Linked DNA regions of Homo sapiens: region 1 is linked to region 2. The links are contacts of gene promoters, found by promoter capture Hi-C in blood cells and fetal thymus (Javierre and others, 2016). All regions are on one chromosome and are shown on one strand. The core of a region is centred on a gene start or on the middle of the fragment in contact, and the rest is flanking DNA. Distances in the headings are between cores, read along the strand shown.

Region 1 (3,683 bases), core at 420-2,919, 820 kb before region 2:
CAGCTGTGTTACTTTGGACAAGTTATGTAGCCCCTGTGGCTGCCTAGCTAGGCTGCAGCTTACAGCCTGATCTTACTCAGCAGTTGCCCTAGGTTCCCCAATTAGTATGATGGGGTAGAGCAAGGGAGAAGGGAGACTAGAGTCAGTGGCTACAAGTTTAAATGGGTATAAGGACCTAGCAATGTAAATGAGTCAATGACTGAAATGAACTGGGTGGGCACTACAGCCAACTATAGAGTGCCAGGGGAACATATGCCCAGAATATTCCTAAGCCTGCTGATTTTTCCAAAAGAAACTAGCACTCTGGATTTTTAAATGTTGGTAACCAACTCAAAATTTTTTCACACACTATGAGATTAAATAAAGCATGATGGTGGACTTCATTCAGCATGGGCTGTCGCTTTGCCACTTAGATTCAGCTAAGTGATCTCAAAGCTCTCTTCCAATATCCAGAAAGACCTAGAAAGAGTACAGAGCCTCCCAGGTCATGAGGGATAAGTGCTGACTGCCATCAAAATCAAGATGTCTTTACAAACACAGGGAAGCTGAGGGGCATCTTGACTCCTAGGGCAGTAAGTATGAACGTGGTCATGAGGAGCCCACTCAGTGAAAAGGGAAGAGAAGATGCTCTCCAGTTCCACAGGAAAGGCCAAGACTGGTCTGTGACCTCCAAAGAGAAAAAACTGGGAACTCTTAAAGGCTGTCAGGCCCATTTGGCTGACAGTCCAAGCTATGGCTTAAAGCAGTCTGACCTGACCTCACACATAAGGGCTTAAGCCAGGGAGAGCAAATAGGTTTCATTTAAAGCAGAAACTTCAATCAACTGGAAGTGGCTGCCTAGAGTAGTGTGCTGAGGGCTCTGAGTACAGTGTGAATATGTGCTGAGAACCAACCAATTAGCCATGACTGCCAGGGACACAGGAAGGGGCACTGGCAGCACACATTCCATGTATTTGTCACCCCTGGCTTAAACTCCCATTGGCAATGAATCAGCTTCAGCTTCCAGCAGATAGCCTTGCCAGGCAGAGGAAGACTAAAGCTCCTGCCCTGGAAATCCACTGGCAATAGAAGTCTTCAAGGCTGGTATAGCAAAGCTTACCCTGCATGGTCTTCATTCACACATACATACATCAAGTATTTACTGCTTTACATCAAGTGTTTACTGCTCTAGACTGGGCAATGGGGAAACAGAGGTGATTGAGACACTGTTCCTGTCCTGGAGATGTTCACAGTCTAATGGAAGAGACACACACTTCACAGATAATTATGATCAAATGTGGTAATAGGAGAAGTTATGGGAGCTGAGGGTTGGGGGTGACTTAATTTGCTTAAGGGAATTGAGCAAAGTAAGAGTTGAAATTTTTTTAAGTTAAAGAAGTTCTCTTGGCAAAGAAGGTGAAGGGCAAGGAGAGAATATTCTAAGCTGAGAGAACAGCATATATAATGATGGAAAACCAAATGGCCTACCCAGGAAACGAGGAAAACCTTGACAGCCCTGGAGTGTGAGGTGCATGAAGATTAGGCTGCAAAAGGAGTTTATGAAGGACAAGGTGTTTGGACTTTACAGGTGCTGGGTGCCAATGAAAGTTTTCAAGCAGAAGGCATAATCAGATTTGTAGGTGAAACAGATCACACTAGGTGCAATGTGTGTGTTCATGCTGGGAAACTGAAAAGGCTTCTGCGAAAACCCTACAAGAAAGAGGCCGACTGAAAAGATATTAAAGAAATTAAAGATCGGAAGATCCTTGGACGTGGAAGAATGCAAGAGGAATCAGTGGGTAAGTAGGTAGGTAGGTAGGTAAATGGGATGATCGTGCCACTGACTTCCATAAGACATAAGGAAAGAAGTGCAGGTTTGGGGCAGAACACAATAGCCAGTCCCATCCACTGGGTTCCAGAGGTAACAATCATTAGGGAGGTAACAAATTAGATATGCTTGTTCTAGATGGGAAGGTAGAGATTGAAACACTATTTTTAAGGTCGGGCTTCAAGCTCAGGCCCTCTTCACTTCTTGCCAGGGCCCCAGACCCTCTATCCTTTCCTCTGTGGTCTCCAGACCTTTCTATGACTCTCCCACCTCCAAAACCTCCCTCAACCCCCTCACCTTCAGACCCTTCTAAGGCCCTCCTCATTCCCAGGGCCCTCTATCGCCTCCTCATCCCCGACCCCTGTATGACCCTTCCCATCTCCGGCCTCTACATCCTTTGACCGTCCCTCACCCTCCACCCCCACATATAAGCTTCTTTCTCCCCTCTCACCTTCCCCAGCCCCCTGTGTCACCACCACCTCCTAAGTCTCCAGCCCAGAGCCTGCGTCTCAGCTGCCCCCGCCCCGCCACCCGGACTCACCCACCGAGACACCCACTTCACAACAGGGCGGAAGTGCTCCCGGGCTCGTGCGGGGAATGCTGGGACGCGGAGTCCGAGCGGCGCCACCCTGGGAATGGAACGTCTGAGACCACAATTCCCAGAAGGAACCGCGCGAGCGCCGGGGGCGGCCCCCTCCGTTTGCTGCCTTTCAGACGTCTTCAGCCAATAGATATGTCATCTTCTAACGGACCCTGGCACTGGAACAAATCGGAACGGGCGCGACACATGGGGGCGGGACCTGTTGCGATCCTGGCCTTTTCCATAGGCTTCCGGATAACAGCACCGCCCAATGGGAGGGCACTCGAGCAGAAGGGGGCCCAGTTCTACTGAGGGGTCGAAGTGAGAGCCTCAGACCCTGAAAGATCAAAGCAGACACAATAAGAAATAAGAAGAGAGAATGACTAGAGGTGACCAGCCCGATAGGCAGGAGAGAACTGGACAGTTGTAGCTTTAATTTCCAGCTTACAGCTAAGCTGTGTGACTTTGGAAGAATTCTGAACCTCGTTCTCTTCAACCATAAAATGAGGGTAGTAATGGCATCCATGTCACAGAGTTTTGTGAACTTTCAATGAGATAATACACCTAAAACGATTAGCTCAGGGCCTGGCTCCTAATAATGCACAGCGATTGTTAGCTATTATTATGTAAATCAGTTAGTACAGAGCTTGGCACTTCCTAGGTGTTGGAAGAATGTTAATCATTATTACAAAATAATCCTCATATAAATGCGGGTGCTCTGTACCACTGTGAATACTTTGGGGCATGAACAATCTAATGTGGTGTTGAGAATGGGGGCTTTGTAGTCAGACATGGATCCAAATCCCAACTCAACTACTTCGCAGCTGTGTGGCCTTGAACAAATTACTGCCATCTATTTTGTCTTTGGAATTTTCATCTATAAAATGCAAGTAATGTAAGAGAACTTACATCACAGGGTGTTATGAAGGTTAAATGAGACTATTTAGGTAAAAGTCTCTGAAGTCAAGCTGCTTGTGTCTGAAAGTTCTTACTTTCAAATGAAGGATGCAGGTCATACCACCCGCGTTGTGAAACCTTGGGCAAATTACTTAGCTTCTTTATGCCTGCATTTTCCCAGCTGTAAAATGGGAATGATAATACTTGCCTCTTCCTGAGACAGTTGTTGAGAGGAATAAATGGGAGAAGGTATGTAAAGAGCGTGACACATGTCTGACACACAGAAAGTGTTTAATAATCATTAGCTAGTCCAGGCACGGAGGCTCATGCCTGTAATCCCAGCCCTCTGGGAGGCTGAGACGGAAGGATCGCTTTAGTCCAGGAGTTTGAGACCAGCCT
Region 2 (3,834 bases), core at 1-2,500:
AAATCCCCACGGCAGAGGCATCCACACTCTCCACTTTCGCGGCGCCGAAACTCCTCGGGCCATCCCCGCCAAACACTCCGTTACCCGTTCCAGGCCAAGGGGCCAGCCAGGCCTTCGGAGCACGCTCGTGCGCGCCGAAACTCACAAGCCCGACGAGGAGGCCCGAGCTCCGAGCCTTGTGGGTAGGAAGCGGTGTCCCCACGCTCGGGACAGAGGCCGAGAAACCGATATCGGAGGCAGGAAGAGAAACAAACACTGGCCGGGGGCCCCACCGCTGGCTTCGCCAGCTGCGACCGAAATCGGTCCCAGGGAACTGGCGAGCCGTTAGCACGCCCCGCGGGGAGTTCCCTCTTCACGCCTTCAGTACCGGGGACTGCACTCGGCAAACTCGGGCCTGCCCTCACTGTTAGGCCATGTCGAGGCCGCGGCTCAGCCCAGGCACCCACTGCCCTCCTGGGTCGGCCCCGGCACCCTCACCTTCCTTGTCGGCCATGGCGGGCAGGCGAGCCGGGGGAATCCTGGGGTCGAGCGTTGCGGGAGGGGCGGGGAGGCTGCAAGAGCTCGCTCTGTGCGCGCGGCCTCTATTGTTTCCTGCGCCCCCAGCGCGAGGGCTGACTCGCGCACCTTCGCGCCAACATCAGCCAATGGGAGCGCTCCTAATGGCGGGATGGGCGGGGAAGCCGCGTTCGCGACCAATCCAGACGCGCGGAGTAGCTTTCCGCGGGGACCGAGGCGCGCGCTCCGCCCCTCCCCCCACGCCTCCCCGAGCCGACTTCCAGCGATTGCGCGCGCCGGCGTTGACGGGACTGCGCCCGGTCAGGGTCACGTGAGAGAGGTTTGGTCCGCACACTCCCGCGGCAAGAGGGCAGCCATTTTCTTGAAGGCTATTAAGCTTACGACCCTTTCAGAGTACTGAGATGAAAAATCTAGAATGCCTTCGGGTCTAGTTATCAATTTTGGGGGTGAAGCGGGGGAAAGAACCTCGCCAGTCAGACCCAGACGGGTTTCATTCAAGGTGCCCTTCAACGTTTTTCCTTAGTCTTTGGAAAGAACTAGTAATGAAGGAATCGCAGAAGATGGGGTTTTGGCTTTTTAAATATGCGATCCAAGCGGCAGGGTAGGGACTAAAGTAGGTCAACAGCCAACTCCGAGAAAGGAGTGTGGTCCTTTAAGGGTGTGCGCCAAGGGGCGGAGTCTAGAGCGGAAGTAGTAACTCCGGGCCGAAGTCCGGTGGATGAAGGGCGGAAGTAGAGTGTCTAATCCTGCAGTCATGGCGCAGGAAGAGGAAGATGTTAGAGATTACAATTTGACTGAAGAACAGAAGGCGATCAAGGCCAAGTATCCGCCAGTCAATAGGAAGTACGAGTGTGAGTAGGTGGCTTACTTCTCTCTTTACATGTAAGCACACAGGCATCCCCTCTCCTTACCCGCGGCTTCCTGCTGCTCTTTCTACTGTGCCCCATGGGTACTTCAGGCATGATCCCATTTGTGCCGGCTGTTGTAGTCGCGTTCGTACTTCTCCTGGGGATGCTGAAGGAAAAAGCCACCTGGTTTAATAGTCGCGAAACCTGGCCTCCCTCATTTACAGTCTCTTGAACTTCTTCCACATGTGCCTAATCACATTTATCTTCGTAAATTCTAAAGATAACCATATTTTCAGGCGTTTGCAGGGTTGTTACCCCCATGTATTTCCCAACGGTGAGATTAGAGTGTGCGAGGTTAGAGGACTCGGAAAGCTAATTAGGGGATTTCTAACTTGATGTTTCACCTCGATCATATTAGCAAAAAACCTGGTTTTGCCATTTATGATTGTGATTTTTAAAAATGATTATTTTAGGCCGGGCTCGGTGGCTGAGGCCTGTGATCCCAGCACTTTGGGAGGCCGAGGCGGGCGGATCACCTGAGGTCGGAAGTTCGAGATCAGCCTGACCAACATGGAAAAACCCCGTCTCTACTAAAAATACAAAATTAGCTGGGCGTGGTGGAGCATGTCTGTAATCCCAGCTACTCGGGAGACTGAGGCAGGAGAATCGCTTGAACCCGGGAGGCGGAGGTTGCGGTGAGCCGAGATCGCCCCATTGCACTCCAGCCTGGGCAACGAGCGAAACTCTGTCTCAAAAAAAAAAAAAAATGTGTGTGTGTGTGTGTGTGTGTGTGTGTGTGTGTTTTTAGAGATGGGGTCTCGCTCTGTCGTCCAGGCTGGAGTGCAATGGAGCGATCATAGCCCGCGCTGCAGTGCCCAGCTGGTTTTGCCATTTATTCGCTTAGTGACTTTAGGCAAATCACATAACCTATCTTTGTCTCTTAAATTCTATATTAAACGTTAAGCTGTCATCCCTAAAGGTAGCTGTGGTTTGGGGAGCACAAATCTGACTTTTATTTATCTGCTTAAAATCTTTCATTAATTTCTCATTGTCCTCTCTGTAAAATCTACTTATTTACCATAGTATTCTAGGCAATGTGCTTTCTGGAGCTGGCATACCTCCTAGCATATCCCCTTCTCTCACTTAAAAACAATTTTAAAATATTATAGGCCGTTTGCGGTGGCTCACACTTATAATCCCAGCACTTTGCGAGACTGACGTGGGTGGATCACCTGAGGTCAGGAGTTCCAGACCAGCCTGGCCAACATGGTGAAACCCCGTCTCTACTAAAAATACAAAAATTAGCTGCGCATGATGGTGGGCGCCTGTAATCCCAGCTACTCGGGAGGCTGAGGCAGGAGAATTGCTTGAACCCAGGAGGGTGGAGGCTGCAGTGAGCCGAGATCACACCACTGCACTCCAGCCTGGGCAACAGAGTGAGACTGTCTCAAAAAAAAAAAAAAAAAAAAAAAGGCCTGGTGCTGTGGCTCACGCCTGTAATCCCAGCACTTTGGGAGGTTGAGGCGGGTGGATCACCTGAGGTCAGGAGCTTGAGATCAGCCTGGCCTGGCCAACATGGTGAAACCCCATCTCTACTAAAAATACAAAAATTAGCTAGGCATGGTGGTGGGTGCCTGTAATCCCAGCTGCTTGGGCGGCTGAGGCAGGAGAATCGCTTGAACCTGGGAGGCGGAGGTTGCAGTGAGCCGAGATTGCACCACTGCACTCCAGCCTGGGCGACAGAGCCAGACTCCATCTCAAAAAAAAATTATTTTTAATAGGTCATATATATTGATTTGAAATTCAGAAAGTGTAACATAGGCAGTGAAAAGTAACTCTGGCAGCCCCCATCCTCAACTACCTAGTCCCCCTCTGTAGAGCAGTCATCGTTACCTTTTTCTTACATGTACATACCTAGATGTTCTAGCATTTGCTTTAACCAATTTTCAGTTGATGGACGTTTAGGCTATTTCTACTCTTGTGGTATTAGAAACAGTGCAGCAGTGAATACACTTGTACATCCACTGTTTTGTACATGTGCAAGTGAATCTGTAGAATCAAGTTCTCCAAGTTTTTTTTGTTTCCATTGCTAAGACTCCTACATTTTTTAAAAGGATATTTTAACTTGGACAGTTATTGCCAAATTGCTCTCTATAGGAGTTGTACCAATTTATACTTTCACTAGTATTGTGTGAATGTGCCTCTTTCCTCCCACTTCTACTAATTGTTACCATACTTTTTTATCTTTTCTAATTTGTAAAGTATACTTACTGTATTTTTCTTATTGTAAGTGAAGTTGAACATATTATACTGTTTTGGAAGCTATTTGTATTTCCCATTCTGGGGTGTGTATGTTAATATTCTTAGCCCTTTTTTCTCTTGGGTTATTTTTTTTTTGTCTTGGGTTGTTGGTTTTTCTTACTAGGCAGAAAGTGTTTTTATGCAATGCAGTTCATTAACCAGCGGTCCC

Evidence for each region. The method cuts DNA at HindIII sites, captures the fragments that hold promoters and counts their contacts. A CHiCAGO score of 5 or more calls a contact.
Region 1: a contact is called between a fragment that was not itself captured here and the fragment with the promoter of ZBTB8OS in region 2, in 3 of 17 cell types (fetal thymus, naive CD4 T cells and non-activated CD4 T cells). The highest score is 7.9, in fetal thymus.

What each region holds. Positions count from the first base shown.
Region 1 is chr1:33,471,357-33,475,039 of GRCh38, reverse strand. It overlaps ZSCAN20 (zinc finger and SCAN domain containing 20), which reads right to left and starts at 2,395. Exons shown (of 8, transcript NM_001377376.1): 1 at 2,349-2,395. The HindIII fragment of the contact is 1,145 bases long and covers 1,097-2,241 here.
Region 2 is chr1:32,647,966-32,651,799 of GRCh38, reverse strand. It overlaps ZBTB8OS (zinc finger and BTB domain containing 8 opposite strand), which reads left to right and starts at 1,250. Exons shown (of 7, transcript NM_178547.5): 1 at 1,250-1,367. The coding sequence starts at 1,271. RBBP4 (RB binding protein 4, chromatin remodeling factor) reads right to left here and starts at 592. Exons shown (of 12, transcript NM_005610.3): 1 at 478-592. The coding sequence starts at 493. RefSeq lists enhancers at 1-43, 204-792, 793-1,380, 2,514-2,653 and a silencer at 344-913. The HindIII fragment of the contact is 3,350 bases long and covers 895-3,834 here.